Linked DNA regions of Homo sapiens: regions 2, 3 and 4 are each linked to region 1. Evidence: promoter capture Hi-C in 16 types of primary human blood cells and fetal thymus (Javierre and others, 2016). All regions are on one chromosome and are shown on one strand. The core of a region is centred on a gene start or on the middle of the fragment in contact, and the rest is flanking DNA. Distances in the headings are between cores, read along the strand shown.

Region 1 (2,700 bases), core at 63-2,562:
TCACTGGGCTGACTTTGTAGGTAGTGAGACGCCCATCACTGGAGGCATCCGAACCAAGCCCAGATAAAACAAACATCAGAAACATTTTTAACTCCGTTTCTCTGAGTTCTAGCCTCTAAAAATACCCTCCATGACACGCTGTGTGCTGCCAGAGGCTTGGTTTTCGCCCTCTTCTCCCCAACTCTTAGCCACGTCCCAGTGGTGGCGGGGGGACGGGGGTCCCAAGCCACTGCACTGGGTTTTGGTTTCACTATGTTGCCCAGGCTGGAGTGCAGTGGTGCGATCTCAGCTTACTGCAACCTCCACCTTCCGGGTTCAAGCAATTCTCCTGTCTCAGCCTTCCCAAGTAGCTGGGACTACAGGCGCACGCCACCACACCCAGCTAATTTTTGTATTTTTAGTAGAGACGGGGATTCACCATATTGGTCAGACTGGTTACAAACTCCTGACCTCAGGTGATCCACTCGCCTCGGCCTCCCAAAGTGCTGGGATTCCAGGCATGAGCCACCATGCCCAGCCTGCACTGGGTTTTGGACTGGCTGTGTTAGCATCACCTGGGGCAGGGGTGGGTCACGTTAGAATGAGTCCTGGCTAGGCCCACAGCAGGCTTTTCCACCCGAATACTGGGGCCACAGCTCATGAATCTGTGTGTATCCATATCCTGGGCTGGGTCAGCTCTCCAGGGTGGAGATGGTTGGGCAGGCAGCCTCTGGGGGCAAGCTCGGGCTCAGGCCTCCCCTTGACCAGCTTCACAGAGACAGACACTGAGGCAGACTGACCTCCAAACTCCCAGCTGAGACGCCAGCTCCCCACGTGGGGGGCTTACAGCTGATGCAACCGGTGGCTCACTAAACATACCTCGACAGCGTCCATTACCGCTTCCCTGCAAACCTCAAGATCCTAAGCACCCAGCCTAGGTCAGGGGTCCCCAATCCCAGCAGGTGTTCCTGCTTCCTGAAGACCCCCCAGCCCAACTCCTCCAACAACCATATTCATCTCCAACCCAGTCCCACCAGCTTCCCTCACTCTCCTTCCCATCACACTGCCTGTGGGGAGCCCCGTGGTGCAGGGACTTTGCCGCTGGCCTTGCGAACCCACGGCTTGGAGCCCCTCCTTGGCCCACTCTCCGGGGCCCTCTTGGGAGCCTCGCTAAACAGCTGGGCATGGAAAGAACCCCACCCTCACCACAGATGGGAACAGACACAGAGAGCCTCAGCCCCGCAGTGGTCTCAGGGGCCCACTGACCAAAGGTGGCCGGAATCGCTTCCCCGCCTCCACCTGCAGCCCGGCCTCTGCCCTGGCTGGCTACTCATAGCAGGCTGTTGCCATGGGAACAGCAGAGCTGTTGAGCTGTGACATCATGGCAGGGGTGAGGTCAGGGACAGCTGTGAGCCAGCCAGGGGGCAAGCGTGTAGGTTAGGGGATCAATCATAAAGATTTGGCTCAAGCAGCCGGGAGCCATGGGGGCACCTGAAGGCACTGTTTAAGGAGGTGTGGGTGAACAAGGACAGTGCAATGTACAAATGCTCGTGGCCATACCAGGCAGAGGACATCTTTTTGTCCCCAGCTGGCTGCATGGAGACCTCCCAGGGTGTCATTCTCTCTGAGCTGTCAGGCCATTAAGGAGGTACACTTCAAGGTCAGGGTTCCTGACAACGCCTGCCATCCCTTCTCCTGTAGGGACAGCATCTGTTCACGCTTCTAAACAGCTCCAGAAAGCCATCGTTAAACTGAAACCCACTGGAGGCGGGGGAAGAAAGAATCCCGTCAACCACCTGCCCACACAGGAGGAGAAGCCACACGTACTTGGCCTCGTTTGAGGGCTAGTTCCCCACAGACAGTTTGATCAGAAGGATGGGCGAGGGAAGCTGGCAGGGCGAGGCTGGGGATGAACATGGGACACTGGGGGAGTCTGGCCGGTGCAGGGGGTTTCCAGGAAGCAGGAGTAGCTGCTGGAAATGGGGGCCCCTGACCTAGTCTGGGTGGTTGGCATCTTAAGGTCTGTGGTAAAGTGATGACTGGCATTGTCAAGATATGTTTTTTGTTTGTTTTTTAGACAGTCTTGCTCTGTTGCCCAGGCTGGAGTACGGTGGCGCAATCTCGGCTCACTGCAACCTCTGCCTCCCGGGTTCAGGGATTCTAGTGCCTCAGCTTTCTGAGTAGCTGGGACTACAGGTGCATGCCACCATGCCCAGCTAATTTATGTGTGTGTGTGTGTGTTTTAGCAGAGACGGGGTTTTACCATGTTGGCTAGGCGGGTCTTGAACTCCTGACCTCAAGCGATTCCCCTGCCTCGACCTCCCAAAGTGCTAGGATTATAGGCACGAGCCACCGCCCCCAGCCCAAGATATGTTTTAGTAAGCCGCCAGTTGGATCATCTGTAAGCAACTCACTAGAAGCTTCCAGCATCCTCCACAAATTTGACAACTGAGAAATGTGGCTGGGAAATCATGATTTGGGTCCGAAGAAGTGAAAGCAACAATCCTCAGGTTGTTGTTTCTTGAGAGAAGAAGGTAAACAGCAGGAATTCGGCTGAGGTGTCCAAATCTCGGGGAGGATGAATTCTCAGGAGAGCTGAACCTGAGACAAAGCCCTTTGTCCTGGGCTGGAAGGACCCTGGAAAGGTTATCTGGTCCCTGACTCAGGGAAGGGAGGCATTCTCCCTGCAGGAATGTTCTCGATCACAGTCCACCACCACCC
Region 2 (2,700 bases), core at 39-2,538, 120 kb after region 1:
TGGTCTCAAACTCTTGACCTCAAGTGATCCACCCGCTTCAACCTTCCAAAGTGCTGGGATTACAGGGGTGAGCCACCGCGCCTGGCCTCCGGGGCGTATACTTTTAACCTTCCTATCTGGTGTTGGGAACATGGCACTCAGCTCGCCAAGCTGATGCTGGGAACTTCTCTCTCCCAGCTGCTAACAGAGAATGCCCAGGGGCAGGAAGGACACAGGTCCGCTACCCAGGGACTCTCTACTTCTCCTCCCGCCTCCCTCTCCTCCTCTTGTGTTGCCAAGGGTGGTGTCCCCAGTGAGCTCATTCAGGGAGGCAGGAAGCATGGTGCAGGAAGCCCTAGGTGGGCGCTGTGCGGCTACAGGACACCACTGCCCCTCCCAGGCAGGTGCAGCCAGCTGGCGAGGGACGTCCTCCCAAGTAGGAGCAGAGAAAGCCCAAGCTGTCCCAGGAAGGCCATGGGTTCCCTCCTTGTTCCTAGGAAGTGACCCCCCTTTTCAGGGCAACCAGGACAACAGAGTGTTTTTGGAACATGCTCCTTTCTGTTCTTCTTCCTGGTGCCTCCCCCCAGCTGTAATTAGCATGACTCATAAACCAAATATTCTGGCATTGAACTTTGCTCATCAAAACAAAGATGAAAAGAATTTCATAGATACAGTTGTGCGCAGGGACTGGAGCTTCCCATTTGTGTCTTGTCCTCAGGGGTCCCTGTTCCTGGGCGGGGGGGGGCTGTGGCTGAGGCTCCAGAACCTTAGGGAAGGGGTGGGGGTGACGGACACCAGGAAGGGCAGGAAGAAGTAGCAGGTTACACCATCCCCTGGACGATCCCACCTCTGCCTGACAATCAGTAGCCTCTAGAGATGTTCAAGTGGGGGCACTCCCTCATGGGCCACAGGTTGCCATTTCCCCTGTTAACCTGCTGAAATTGGCCTGCTGGTGTCAAATGGCACAAGGCAGCTCTCTGGACAGGACCCTGCCATCTCCCTGACCCCTTCATACAGGGCAAGAACTCACCTGCCCACTTTAGAGAGCAGTCTGGAAGAAACAGCGACGTCAGCTCAGCTCAACAATGTGTTTCCTTCAGGCTCTCTTGGGGCAGCCCAGCAAGCCGCTCTCATGAGCCAGGGATCCTTGGGGCCCTGTCCTGGGGTCTATGCTGGGGTCCTTGGCCTGGAAGGGCCAGTCCTGAGCTTAAGCAGGGACATGCAGGAGCAGGACATGCTCACTCCTTTCCTCCTTCCCGAGCCCCGCAGTGAGATGCTCCAACTGCTGCCGCTGCAGCCTCTAGTTCTCTGGGAGAGGCATGCGGTGTGAGCAGGAAGGGAGGGGCTTCGGAGCCATGTGGGAAGGATCTTTATCTCTGGGTCCTTGTCAAGGTCACGGCTGTGTGACACTTGTGCTGGGGTGATATGAGTGGCTCTTGGCAAATCAGCACCCCTCCAGCTGCCTGTTCTTGCCTACATTTGATTTCCAGAGCTGGGCTTGGCATCTGAATGTGGTTCAAAGGGGGATGGTCTCCAGCAGGGGCACGGGGACCCCCACAGTCCCCACTGTACACCAGGGCACTGCTATCTTGCCTCTGAGGCCCCCTGGATCTAAGCCGTTCTCCAGCTTCAGATGGGGCTGGCACAGACTGCAGGCCCCTCCCCGGGCCCCCATCCTGTCCAGGACGGCCGTCGGGACGGCTGTGGCCGGGCCGGTGTCTGCCCATCTCCCTGGCTCCTGTAGGAATTTTCCTTGACACGAGACAGAGTAGAGCAGGAGACGGCAGGCAGGGAGGCAGGAGTCGAGGGGAGGAGGAGAAGAGGCAGACAGGCAGGCGGGGCATGGGGAAGTCAAGTTCTTGGTGCCCTGTGCTGGGTCAAATGTTGTTCTTGGCCACGGCTAAAGCCACACTTGGTGGAATGCCCCAAACCCTATGCTTTGGGTTGTACCCATCCCCCTCAGCAAGACATCTGGATAACAGCCACCCTCTGCCCTGGGGAGCAGGGAAGCTGCTGGGAAAGCTGCCAGCCCTGGGTGGGTTCGAGGCAGATGTAGGTCAGAAGGCGGGCAGGGCCCCCTGACTCTGCCCACAGGTTCCTGGGGCCAGTCTTCAGAGCTGGGGACAGAGGTGTGTTCAGAAAACGCTTAGACCCATTCTCCTTGTAAAGAATCTAAAGTGAGAGATGGAAGGATCTGGGTGGGTTAGGGGGTGACCACAGGTCTCTTGCGTCCTCTGGCATTCAGGGGAGCCCCCTCCTCCATGAAAGGATATCAATGAGGGCAAGGCCCATGGTCCTGAGGGTCCTCCCCGTGTGGTGCGTGAACTTAGATTCCTTTGCAACTCAGAGCTCAGGTCTGCTTGTGCCCATTAGAGGGCACTGGTCGGGAGAGAAAAATCATCTGTACCCCAGCACATGGGTCTTTTCCTCCCTTCTTCAGAGCTTGCCAGCATGCTGGTGTCTCTTCACCCTACAAAAGCAGTGCCCTAAAAATGCACATCCGATGGGCCACACTGCCCAAGCCCCTCACATTTTAAGGTGTGTGTGTGTGTGTGTGTGTGTGTGTGCATGCACGCGCGGGTGTTCCTGGTGATCCTGTGCCTAAATCCAAAGGAATTAAACTCCGGTGGTGTATTTTAAGATGCTAGCAGGCTGGCACCAGGGATATCTTAGCACATTGCATCAAGGAAGATGGTTACAGGTTTCCCTGGTACCCCATAC
Region 3 (2,700 bases), core at 93-2,592, 77 kb after region 1:
GACCGCCTGTCCTGTGTGCTGGGGACTGTGCTGGTTTTAGCACTGAAGTTTCCCTGTGTCCTGGGAAACCCCTCAGTCCCAGGCACGCCGGTATGGGTGGACGCCCTCTCCACTTCTGCCCCCAGCCACTTCACTCTGCTGCAGCCACTAGGTTTGTCCGTCCTGGGAGAGTAACTCAGGGCCTTGGAAAAATGGCCAACTGGCCAGGCGCGATGGCTCACGCCTGTAATCCCAGAACTTTGGGAGGCTGGGGCAGGTGGATCACTTGAGGTCAGGAGTTCAAGACCAGCCTGGCCAACATGGTGAAACCCCGGCTCTACTAAAAATACAAAATAATAATAATAATAAGCTGGGCATGGTGGTGTGCACCTGTAGTCCCAGCTACTCAGGAGGCTGAGGCAACAGAATTGCTTGAATCCGGCAGGCAGAGATTGTAGTGAGCCGCTGCACTCCAGCCTGGGTGACAGAGCAAGACTCTGTCTCAAAAAAAAAAGGGGGGGGGGCAACGAAGCACCTGGCAGGTGGCGTCGCTGCCCTTTGTGTGGCAGCGGCTATTTTTGCCTGATTCCTTCATACAGTTGAGACCCGGCTGCCTGTGTTGGCCCCTTCGTGCAAATCAGAAAAAAAGGTGCTCTTCCTTGGAGTGGGTGCAGGCCTAGGCCAAATGCACAGGTCTGAGAGAGGGCCAAGCTGAATTCTAACCCACTTGCCCTTTGGCTGGTATCCTTGTGCAGTGAGTAATCTGCCCAACTGTACACAGAGGCCCTGTGGGCCTGGGAGCAGCAATGATTGTTGCTGGACTCAGGAGCCCTGGATCCCCAGCTCCAGGCCTATGTGCAAACAGGGAGGCATGACCCCCACTTGCCTGTGTAGAGAGAGGGGTGCCCTGGCCGGGCGCGGTGGCTCACACCTGTAATCCCTACACTTTGGGAGGCCGAGGCGGGTGGATCACCAGAGGTCAGGAGTTTGAGACCAGCCTGGCCAAGATGGCGAAACCCTGTCTCTACTAAAAATACAAAAATTAGCTGGGCGTGGTGGCACGCGCCTGTAATCCCAGCTACTTGGGAGGCCGAGGCAGGAGAATCGTTTGAACCCAGGAGGCAGAGGCTGCAGTGAGCGGACATTGCATCACTGTACTCCAGCCTGGGTGACAGAGTGAGACCCTGTCTCAAAAAAAATAAAAATAAAAAAGAGAGAGAGACTGAGAGGGGTGCCCACCTGAGAGCTAGAGGCAGGAGCTTACCTGGCTGCGGTAGCTGCAACGGCCGTGTGGAGCCTCCTCGCTTCCAGCCACAGGATCCCTCTGCAGACTGGTCCTTTGACCCAGAAGCCTCTCCCAGTATGGAGCGTGGTCAGGCTGATCCCAGGAAATGCTTCAGAAAAGAGTCTACTTTCGATTTCCAGAAACCACCTGACATAGATGTCTTCCGGGATTGGCTGCTGCTGATACTCCCCAGGGCCCCTCTCTTTTGTCTCAGCTCTGCCTGTGGCTATCAGTGCCAGGCTGGCAGAGGCCCAAGGTGGGAGTCTGGCTGGAGCAAGGCCTGCAAGAGGACTAACAGCCACACTCAGTTGGAAAGGCCGCCAGGCTGGTCAGGGGCTGGCGTTTGGTGGACGGGAGGGGAAGAAGCAGAGGCTCTGGGCCCAGACAGTCTGCACCTGGTGGTGTGGCTGTGGACTCTGACAGAGCGCTCCGAGTCTTTTCCTGGGTCTAGCACGTTGCTGGCTGGGTGAACACCACACAGGGGGCTGCTTATGTGCAAATCCACCCTCTCTGTGCTCTTGGCATGCTGACCACACAGAGGGCCTGTGCCCCACAAGGTTGCATGGCACTGTCCCCTGTCCCCAGGGGAGGGAGGCACTGAGAACCAGGTATGCAGCTGGCCAGTGGAGGAGCTGGACCCTGCTCCAACACCTGACCCCAGAGCCTGTGCTCGCCACTGCTGGACCTGTGGCCACTCTCCTACTGTCTCCCCCTCAGCGGGGCGGGGGACAGAGCCTCTCTGGGTGACATAATGGCTCTGTCCAGCTCATACCCATTCCCTTTCCTCCCACTGAAAGCCGGCACCTCAACTGTCCCTTGGGGAGCACCCCCTCCCATTCCCGGCTGTGTGGTTCCCAGAGGGCCCCCAGCTCTTGGCCTTCAACCACCCAAGGCCTGGCTGTCTGAGCCCTGCGGGGGCCCCGGGCCACACTGCTGGTTTCAGGGTGGGGCTGTGAGCCCAGCCAGCCGGTGAGAGCCAGCTTCTGACTGAGAGGATGTGGGCCCAGGCTGCTGGGGCCGGTGGGGCAGAGCAGAGGGAAGCAGGCATCCTCCGGCCTGAGCTCCTGGGTCCAGCTGGCCTAATCCATGGTCAAGGCTGGGCTTCACCGCTCAGTGAGGCAATCAGCAGCCGCTCTTGTTTCTGTCACTTGCACCCCATGGTTCTGGATGAGCCTTGGGATGTGCCCAGGCCTCTGACCAGTGGTTCTCAGCCTGGGCTGGACAGAAGAATCATCAGGGAGTTTTACAAACTCCTAATGCCTAGACCCAGGAAGTCACCATCTCTGGGAGTAGGGGACAGGCAGGGGCATTTAAAAGCCCCCAGGCAGTCCCACTGGGTGGAAGGCCCTGGTTCCCTGGCAGCTTAGAGTCCGAGACAGCCAGCCCAGAGGTCAGACATTCAATGACTATTTCCTTCAAGGTGTGAGGTTTTAGGC
Region 4 (2,700 bases), core at 113-2,612, 110 kb after region 1:
TAGGAGCCTTCTACGACCTGACACTTGTTTCAAGTTTGGGCCCTTACACTGGAGAGCTAGCCGGATTCACTTGACACCAAGAGCCTCACATTTCCAAACCTCTGCTTTGTTGAAAATGTGGTAGGAAAGGCCATAGGGCATACAACCTCAAGAATAAAATAAGAAATGGAGCTGGGACACTAAGAGACGGCTTTTCCAGGGGTCACTAAGGGGGAAAGGTGTTTGGGAGAGAGATGTGTCTGCTGATGGAAGAGTGGTCACAGGTGCTCTGTGCCAAGCCTAGGGTACACAGAGGGCAAGGGAAAGACCATTCGGAGGGAGAAGCAAAGGCACCAGGCAACATGGACTGGCAAGGAGGTACCAGTCTCCAAGGATGAGAGAATCCAGACCGGATGGCAGTAGGGGTGTGAGACAGGTATGGTGGGGAGGGCGAATCATTTGCATGCAGGAAGATGAGAGTGAGCTGTGTGCCTGGAGGAAGGCTCCAAATTGGATGAGGGCAGGGAGAGCAAGGACTGGGATGGGGTGGGGAAGGTTGGCCTGTTACAGGTTTGACCAAGTGCCAGTCAGAGGGAGAAAATTCCCTTATCAGTCCAAGGAGACCCTGCATAGACCAGAGGAGGGGTATTTGAAGTCAGAAGGTGGTGGGAGGGGGTCATTCCCAGGAGGGGTGCCCCACACTAGCCAGAGCGGGGAGGCGTCCCACACTAATCAGAGGGGGATGGTCCCCACACTAACCAGAGGGGGAGGTGCCCCACATGAATCAGAGGGGGGTGGTCCCCACACTAATCAGAGCGGGGAGGTGCCCCACAGTAATCAGAGGGGGATGGTCCCCAAACTAATTAGAAGGGGGGTGTCCCACACTAATCAGAGCGGGGAGGAGTCACATAATCAGAGGGGGGAGGTGCCCACACTAATCAGAGGGGAATGGTCCCCACACTAATTAGAGAGGAGGGGTGCCCACACTAACCAGAGGGTAATGGTCCCCACGCTAGTCCCAGGGATGAGGTGTCCCAAAAGTCAGAGGGGGTGGTGTCCACCGCCTGTCGGAAGAAGGGGACTTTCCCACAGGTCAGAGGGCAGAGTCCCAGCCCAGTCTGCGAGTCAGGGGGCAGAGATCCCGCACGGGTGGGACGGGAAGGGGGCCTGACGGGTCAGGGGGCGGGACGCGGCAGGGTCGGAGGGCGGCGGCAGGCTCCGGGACGGGGGTCCGGGCCCGTGGCTGGGGCAGGGCGCCGGCGGCCGCGGGCGCAGTCACTCACCCGCTGCGGGGCTGGCTCCGGTGCCCGCGATCGGCGGGGCTTGGCTGGGCTTGGCTGGGCTTGGCTGGGCTAACGGCCGGGACGGAGGAAGGTGGCCGACTTCCGCCCCGCGCGCGCTCGCCCCGCCTCTGGGCCCGCGTTCCCGGCAGCCTCTGCTCTGCGGCTGCGCGCGGACGGCGCGAGGGCTGCTGGGAGCTGTGGTTTGTGTTTTTTTGGGTTTTTTTTTTGTTGTTTTTTTGTGTTTTTTTTTTCCGTCCTGCGCCTGCGCGCTGGAGGAGCGGCCGGCTGGCTGCAGGCTGGAGGGGCGCGAGGGTCCGCACTGGCACATGAGGGCCGTCTTCCACCGCGTTGCGCTGGAACGTGGGCCCAGCAGATCTTTTGGGGTGGGAGGCATTGAGGGGGGTGAAGGCTACTAGGGAGGGAAGTTCTCATTCTCCGAGCGAGGGCCCCCTTACATGGGCCTCCCGACCCTCGTAGTCTTGGGAGGCGGAAAACCGTGGGCCCCTTTCTGCCATCCTCATTCTCAGGCAGCCCCTCTCCTTGGCCCTTCAAAACAGCCGCCTCCAGAGTGCTGCTGACCAGTTGCCAAAGCCAGGATCAGGGAGGTCTAAGGCTGTAGTGTCCTGGGGTGGGGACGGTGGGGTGTTTCCCTGCAAAAAATCTGCAGTTGACAAACCTGCCAAACAAGGGTCTCTGATTTCTCCTTTCCCCTCCGTAGCCCTAGCCCCCGAGATATTTTAGGGCACTCTGTTAAAAGGCTTCCCCGGCCCCGCCCTCCTCCATCCCAAAGTTCTGAGAAAGGCCTGGTGGCCGTGGAGCCTCTGGCAGGAGAGCTTGGCAGAAGGGTGCACCAGCCCCCTGCCCATCTGCACCTTCAGCTTTCCTGCTTGATACCAGCTACTTCCCCCAGCTCTCTCAAAACCTTCCGTTCAGTAAAAGATACACAAGAGGAGGAATTCAAATTATATAAATGGTACGCAATGAAAAATAAGCCTCCCATTGCCGTTCTGTATTCCCTGCCCAGAGGCGATCACTAGATGTTATATGGTATCCAAACAAGTCATAAACACGTATCTTAAATTACCTTTAACTAAATAGAAATGTGCTAAACACTGTTATGCACTTTTGGTTTTTGATTTTGGAGAGGAGACAAACCTTTCTTGAATTCATTAATGTTTCTTGTCATGCTAAACTGAGTCCCAACCATGTCTCACATAATACTCATTATTGTCAGGCCTCTGAGCCCAAGCTAAGCCATCATATCCCCTGTGACCTGCACATATACATCCAGATGGCCTGAAGCAACTGAAGAACCACAAAAGATGACATTCCACCATTGTGATCTGTTCCTGCCCCACCCTCACTGATCAATTGACCTTATGACAATACACCCTCCCCACCCTTAGGATAATGTACTTCGTGATATTCCCTCACCCTT

Evidence for each region. Contacts are between HindIII fragments. The CHiCAGO score rates a contact against its expected background, and 5 or more counts as called.
Region 2: the fragment with the promoter of C1QTNF1-AS1 here is called in contact with the fragment with the promoter of CEP295NL in region 1 in 6 of 17 cell types (erythroblasts, neutrophils, total B cells and 3 more); the score reaches 12.2 in erythroblasts.
Region 3: the fragment with the promoter of LGALS3BP here is called in contact with the fragment with the promoter of CEP295NL in region 1 in 6 of 17 cell types (neutrophils, total B cells, M2 macrophages and 3 more); the score reaches 8.7 in neutrophils.
Region 4: the fragment with the promoter of CANT1 here is called in contact with the fragment with the promoter of CEP295NL in region 1 in 5 of 17 cell types (neutrophils, total B cells, endothelial precursors and 2 more); the score reaches 10.4 in neutrophils.

Annotation. Positions count from the first base shown.
Region 1 is chr17:78,901,889-78,904,588 of GRCh38, forward strand. It overlaps CEP295NL (CEP295 N-terminal like), which reads right to left and starts at 1,313. Exons shown (of 3, transcript NM_001243540.2): 1 at 1,246-1,313; 2 at 1-38. The region is part of intron 1 of TIMP2 (TIMP metallopeptidase inhibitor 2); the gene reads right to left. RefSeq lists an enhancer at 492-1,092. The HindIII fragment of the contact is 4,047 bases long and covers 1-2,397 here.
Region 2 is chr17:79,026,367-79,029,066 of GRCh38, forward strand. It overlaps C1QTNF1-AS1 (C1QTNF1 antisense RNA 1), which reads right to left and starts at 1,289. Exons shown (of 3, transcript NR_040019.1): 1 at 1,010-1,289. All of the region lies in intron 1 of C1QTNF1 (C1q and TNF related 1), which reads left to right. The HindIII fragment of the contact is 3,661 bases long and covers 1-2,700 here.
Region 3 is chr17:78,978,581-78,981,280 of GRCh38, forward strand. LGALS3BP (galectin 3 binding protein) reads right to left here and starts at 1,343. Exons shown (of 6, transcript NM_005567.4): 1 at 1,244-1,343. RefSeq lists an enhancer at 1,377-2,369. The HindIII fragment of the contact is 6,269 bases long and covers 1-2,700 here.
Region 4 is chr17:79,008,402-79,011,101 of GRCh38, forward strand. CANT1 (calcium activated nucleotidase 1) reads right to left here and starts at 1,363. Exons shown (of 5, transcript NM_001159773.2): 1 at 1,263-1,363. RefSeq lists a silencer at 1,083-1,462 and an enhancer at 1,703-1,752. The HindIII fragment of the contact is 10,955 bases long and covers 1-2,700 here.